Regions from separate parts of the Homo sapiens genome. Here region 2 is linked to region 1. The links are contacts of gene promoters, found by promoter capture Hi-C in blood cells and fetal thymus (Javierre and others, 2016). All regions are on one chromosome and are shown on one strand. Each heading gives the region's core, a stretch centred on a gene start or on the middle of the fragment in contact. The rest is flanking DNA. Distances are from core to core; before and after follow the strand shown.

The links. Contacts are between HindIII fragments. The CHiCAGO score rates a contact against its expected background, and 5 or more counts as called.
Region 2: a fragment that was not itself captured here is called in contact with the fragment with the promoter of ZNF622 in region 1 in 1 of 17 cell types (activated CD4 T cells); the score reaches 7.6 in activated CD4 T cells.

Annotation. Positions count from the first base shown.
Region 1 is chr5:16,464,337-16,467,163 of GRCh38, forward strand. ZNF622 (zinc finger protein 622) reads right to left here and starts at 1,464. Exons shown (of 6, transcript NM_033414.3): 1 at 705-1,464. The coding sequence starts at 1,329. RefSeq lists an enhancer at 772-841 and a silencer at 2,649-2,827. The HindIII fragment of the contact is 4,211 bases long and covers 1-2,827 here.
Region 2 is chr5:18,749,891-18,752,894 of GRCh38, forward strand. No RefSeq gene overlaps it. Among named protein-coding and RNA genes, the nearest start is that of LINC02100, 5.2 kb to the left of the region's middle. The HindIII fragment of the contact is 4,711 bases long and covers 1-3,004 here.

The DNA.
Region 1 (2,827 bases), core at 214-2,713:
CCATGAGAAAACTTCATCTATAGAACAGGCCCTCACCAGACACTGACTCTGCCAGCACCTTGATTTTGGACTTCCCAATTTCCAGAACTATGGGAAAATACATTTATGTTGTTCATAAATCACCCAGTCTCTAGTACTTCCTTATAGCAGAGTGGACAGACTAAGACATGAACACCTACACCAGCACTGTTAATAGGATGTGGGATGAGGGAAGTAAGGAATAAATAGCTCATAAAGGCAAAGAGGTGAGGGTGCTGGCTCCAGCTCCAAATTTCTGGCTGAGTTGGTTTTGATCCCCTCATTCTGTTTTACTCAACTAAATTAAGTGCAAAACCATCATAACTGGAAACCCACTAGAATCGCAAATTACACGGCAGCTGGTATGACGATAGCATGTCCTCCTGTGCATATGTTAAAAGCCTCTTCATCCAAAACACAGAAGGCATCAATTCATTCTCCAAATATGCATTAAGCACTTCTTTTTCCAGACAAGGTTTTAGGCCTTGGAGAATGAATTGAGTGAACTAAACAGCCAAACCTGCTGGCCAGATAAGGCACTTCAGAAAGCGTCTAAACCACCTTCCCTCATCATTTTTACTTAAAAGCTCTCAAACACACACACACACCCATCTCGAGTATAAATCTGGAAACTTAAGGGTGGGCCAAGTTCCTCTTTACCCTCCCCGCCCAGACAGGGCCATCACCGTCTCCATCCAGGTCCTCTTCCTCCTCCTCGCTGTCCTCCTCCTGCTGCTTTGCCAACTTCTTCGCCTGCTGTTCAAACCACTGGAGCCGGGGTGGTTTCTCACTCGGGTCTCGGTCGTGGGTCCCACGGCCACCAGTACCCACGGCCACGACATTCCTGGCCTCCTTTGCAGGCGCTGGGGGCGCCTTCTTGGGAGACATGGACGGCTGGGCCTTGATGGCCTGCTGGATGGCCGCGTTCATGGCATCCTTGTCCACACTGTCCACGCCCAGTCCTTTCTCCAAGTTCTTTTCATTCATCATCTCCACTTTCCGATTCACTGCCTGCACGGCCTTCTTCTCCAGCTCAACGTGACGCCGGGACTTGAGGTGGTTCTCGTAGGCGTTGAAAGAGGCAAACTTCTTACTGCAAACGGTGCAGTAGGTGGCCGAGCCCTTGCTCTCCTCCTCCGCGACGGCCCGCTGCGCCCGCACTCGCTCCTGGAAGCCCTCGGCGGTCACTGGGGCCATGCTGGCCACCTTCCGCCGCAGGTTGTAGCGGTGCCAGTCCGTCTTATAGTGGGCCCGCTGCATGTCCGCGTCGCGGAACGCCACCCGGCAAGTTATGCAGGTGTACGTCGCCATTGCCAGGCGAGAAATAAGAACCGACCAAGCCAAACACCTGGTGATCAGCGCCGTGGCCCCACAAGACCCTCAGACCTTAACCCGCCTCAGCAGCCAGGAAGAGCCACTCGACACGCCGACTTCCTGATTGTCACTGAGGAAACTTCCGGCACACGTCGGAAGTTATTCACAACTGGACAGGAAACCCGCCTCTCAGGCTGTGGCCACGCCTCCGCCGCCGTGAGGCCCAGGAAGCCGAGGGAACGCTGTGGCTGAAAGGGACCTGGGTCCGCTCAGTCAGCCCGAGGTGGCTGTTGATTGAGGGAGGTCGCGCCCTCCCAGTTACCTTCCCTGGTGGTTGTGCCGCTCGGTGTGACGCGGTCAAGGGGACGGCTACGCGAGAATGGGGGAGTGGGGCGCCCGAGGCTGCTCCTGGGCCCTGGGAAGCCCCCGATTAATGAATGGTCGGGTCAGCGACGCGAGGGTCGGGGTTTCTCTGAGGACCGCGCGCTGCACCTGCGGAGCCGGGTGAATGGATGTCGCGAAGGCAAGGGCTGCCCTTACCCCTCGGGGCCGACCTCGGAGCCCTCGCCCGTGGTTGCAACGCTTTCCCGGGAAACCGGAGAAGCCAGGCCGGGGGCTCGGCCTTTCTGAGGCGGCCCTTCCGGCGGAGGACACCGGCGGAATTTGAGTGCACAGAGTGCGCGAGAGGAGCTCCCTGTAGACACACAGTCCAAGCCACGTAGGTAATTCTAATAGCAGCCACATTTTTAAAGAGTAAAGAGAAATCGGTGAAACTGCTTTTAATGTGTTTAATTTAGCCCATCCTGTCATTTCAGCATGTAATCAGTCTAAAAGAATTAATTAGATCTTTTACGCTCTGTCGTTGGTTCTAAGTCTTGGAAATCCAGTGTGTGTTTTAGAGTTAACAGCCCATCTCAATTTGGACTAGACCCGTGCCAGGTGCCCAGTTGGCTGTGTACCCTCATGTATATAGGACAGCAAAGTTCTGTAGAAAAGAACTTCAGGCCAGGCGCGGTGGCTCACGCCCGTAATCCCAGCACTTTGCGAGGCCGAGGCGGGCGGATCATCTGAGGTCAGGGGTTCAAGACCAGCCTGGCCAACATGGCGAAACCCAGTCTCTGCTAAAAAATACAAAAATTAGTCCCGGCGCAGTGGCGCAGACCTGTAATCCCAGCTACTTGGGAGGTTGAGGCAGGAGAATCGCTTGAACCCGGGAGGCGGAGGTTGTGGTGAGCCGAGATCGCGCCACTGCACTCCAGCCTGGGCAACAGAGCAAGATTCCATCTCAAAAGAAAAAGAAAACATGAACTTCAAATGCTTGGGGAGGTCGTAGATTTCATCCACACAGCCTGGTTGAACCAGAGTCAGCCTTGTTAGAGTCGAATGTTGCATGCTCAGAATCCAGGCTGCCAAGAGAAAACCAAAAGAAGATGGCGCTTTAAAAAACCTTCCAGTGCCTTCCCTTGACTCAATCAAATTCAAACACCTTACTTTC
Region 2 (3,004 bases), core at 222-2,721, 2.3 Mb after region 1:
GAAACTGAACATTTGACTATGAGTCATCAAGTCACCATGCAACCTCAACTGGGTGTTTTCTGACCTATCTAGCCATAAAGCGGGTCGTGCACAGCAGCATTCCATCATCAAATGAAAGTGGTATATACATGATTGGACTCAAGCTGGTCCTGAAGGCTTAAATAAGCGACATGAGGAAGTGGCTCAAATGTCCATGTTCTCCACTCCTGCCACCCTGCCTTCTCTTCCCCATCCTGCACCGATGGCCTCACAGGGAGTTCCCTTTGATCAGTTGACAGAGGAAGAGAAGACTAGGGCCTGGTTCACAGATGGTTCTGCACGATATGCAGGCACCACTCAAAAGTGGACAGCTGCAGCACTACAGCCCCTTTCTAGGGCATCCCTGAAGGATGCTGTGAAGGGAAATCTTCCCAGTGGGCAGAACTTGGAGCAGTGCACTTAGTTGTGCACTTTGCATGGAAGGAGAAATGGCAAGATGTGTGGTTATATACAGATTCATGGGCCGTAGCCAATGGTTTGGCTGGATGGTCAGGGACTTGGACGAAGCATTATTGGAAAATTGGTGACAAAGAAATTTGGGGAAGAGGTATGTAGATGTACCCCTCTGAGGGGTTAAAAACTGTGAAGATATTTGTATCCCATGAGAGTGCTCACCAATGGGTGACCTCAGCAGTGGAGGATTTTAATAATCAAGTTAATAGGATGACCTGTTCTGTGGACACCACTCAGCCTCTTTCCCCAGCTACACCTATCATTGCCTGATGGGCCCATGACCAAAGTGGCTATGGTGGCAGGAATGGAGGTTACACACGGGCTCAGCAACATGGACCTCCACTCACCAAGGCTGACCTGGCTACGGCCTCTGCTGAGTGCCCAATTTGCCAGCAGCAGAGACCAACACTGATCCCTCGATATGGCAGCATTCCTCATGGTGATCAGCCAGCTACCTGGTGACAGGTTGATTTTATTGGACTTCCTCCATCATGGAAAGGGTAGAGGCTTGTCCTTACTGGAATAGACACTTTCTCTGGATATGGGTTTGCCTATCCTGCACACAATGCTTCTTCCAAGACTACCATCCATGGACTACAGAAGGCTTTATCCACCATCATTGTATTCCACATAGCATTGCCTCTGACCCAGGCACTTACTTCATGGCTAAAGAAGAGTGTCAGTGGGCTCATGCTCATGGAATTCACTGGTCTTACCATGTTCCCCATCATCCTGAAGCAGCTGGATTGATAAAACAATGGAATGGCCTTTTGAAGTCACAATTACAATGCAAACTAGGTGACCATACTTTGCAGGGCTGGAGCAAAGTTCTCCAGAAGGCTGTGTATGCTCTGAATCAGTGTCCAATATATGGTACTATTTCTCTCATAGCTAGGATTCATGGGTCCAGGAATCAAGGGGTAGAATTGGAAGTGGAACCACTCACCATCACCCCTAGTGATCCACCAGCAAAATTTTTGCTTCCTGTGTTTGTGACATTATGTTCTGCTTGCCTAGACATGTTAGTTCCACAGGGAGGAATGCTGCCACCAGAAGAGACAACAACGATTCCATTAAACTGGAAGTTAAGATTGCCACCTGGACACTTTGGGCTCCTCTTACCTTTAAGTCAACAGGCTAAGAAGGGAGTTACAGTGTTAGCTGGGGTGATTGACCCAGACTATCAAGATGAAATCGGTCCACTACTTCACAACGGAGGACGGGTATGCATGGAATACAGGAGATCAATTAGGGCATCTCTTAGTAGTACCATGCCCTGTGATTAAGGTCAATGGGAAACTACAACAGCCTATCCAGGCAGGAATACAGATGGCCCAGACCCTTCAGAAATGAAGAGACAAAAGGAAATGAGTTTATATTCTGCAATGTTAGAGTTAACAATAATAATATAATACTAGAAATAATGTGTTTAAATATAATATAAAATTTAGAAGTCAAAATTAAATCTTTGTTTCAGGAAATTTGATAGGTTAATCATTATTTCAGCAAACAAATCTGTGTTGTTTAAAATACTTTTCCTTCCATATTTCATTTCTAAGCATTTTCCCCTTGATATGATTTATCTTTTCTAAAGTGACTAGATCATTCAAAGCAAAGGAACAATCAAAGCTAACTTTGCCTCAGGCTATTTGCAGTCGATGTCACTTGAGTTTAAACCACAAAGACATTTCAAAAAGAAAACATTTCTATCTCTTAATATGTAAGCCAGGAGATATGAAATCATGGCATCCCCAGAGAAACACCTTTCCCTGATGTCAACTTGGCAACTTGCATCTGCTTTTCTGATGAACAAAGAAAAGTATTTGGCTATGACAGTTCAAAAACTGTGTATCCTTAAACTTTTTACCTTCAATGCTGCATTAATGAAGCATCTCTGCTCTTCTAAAGGCCATTAAAGGCTTTTAGCTCTCTCTCAATTGTATTAGCAAGGGAAAAGTAAGATGCATTGTGACCCTGTATCTAAGACACATGCCTAGATTCCCTGTTATGTAAAGTAAAAACCATCCTGAAAATGCTTTCTGTTCTCAACATTTTATATCTACCTTCTCTGAACAGATAAGCACCACATATAATCAGCAAGATCAGCAAGTTCACAGCAAAGAAAGTTAGCTAAAAACTACTGCCAATACTTAGCAAGAACTGATTTACATATTTACCAAGTCACAGTTTCCATTATTATTGGAATACAACTCTACACAAAAGCACATACGAAAATTGAAAATACCATGATTTTTTTTTGAAACATCTAGTTTGAAGTCTTCAAATAGTCATGCTGGAAATTCTGTTCTTTTATAATCTAAAGTATGTATTTAATCATTCTATCACTTTCATTGCTTTCAATTTTTTAATAACTACCATATGCCTTTGGAAAATGAAGAAAAAGCAAAAAGAAAAAAGAAGATAAATTTGACACTCACTTTCAAGGAACTAAAATACTTCTCAGGATAAGAGCAATGCAAACAAAAGTAAAATAAAGCAGATTGAGGAATTC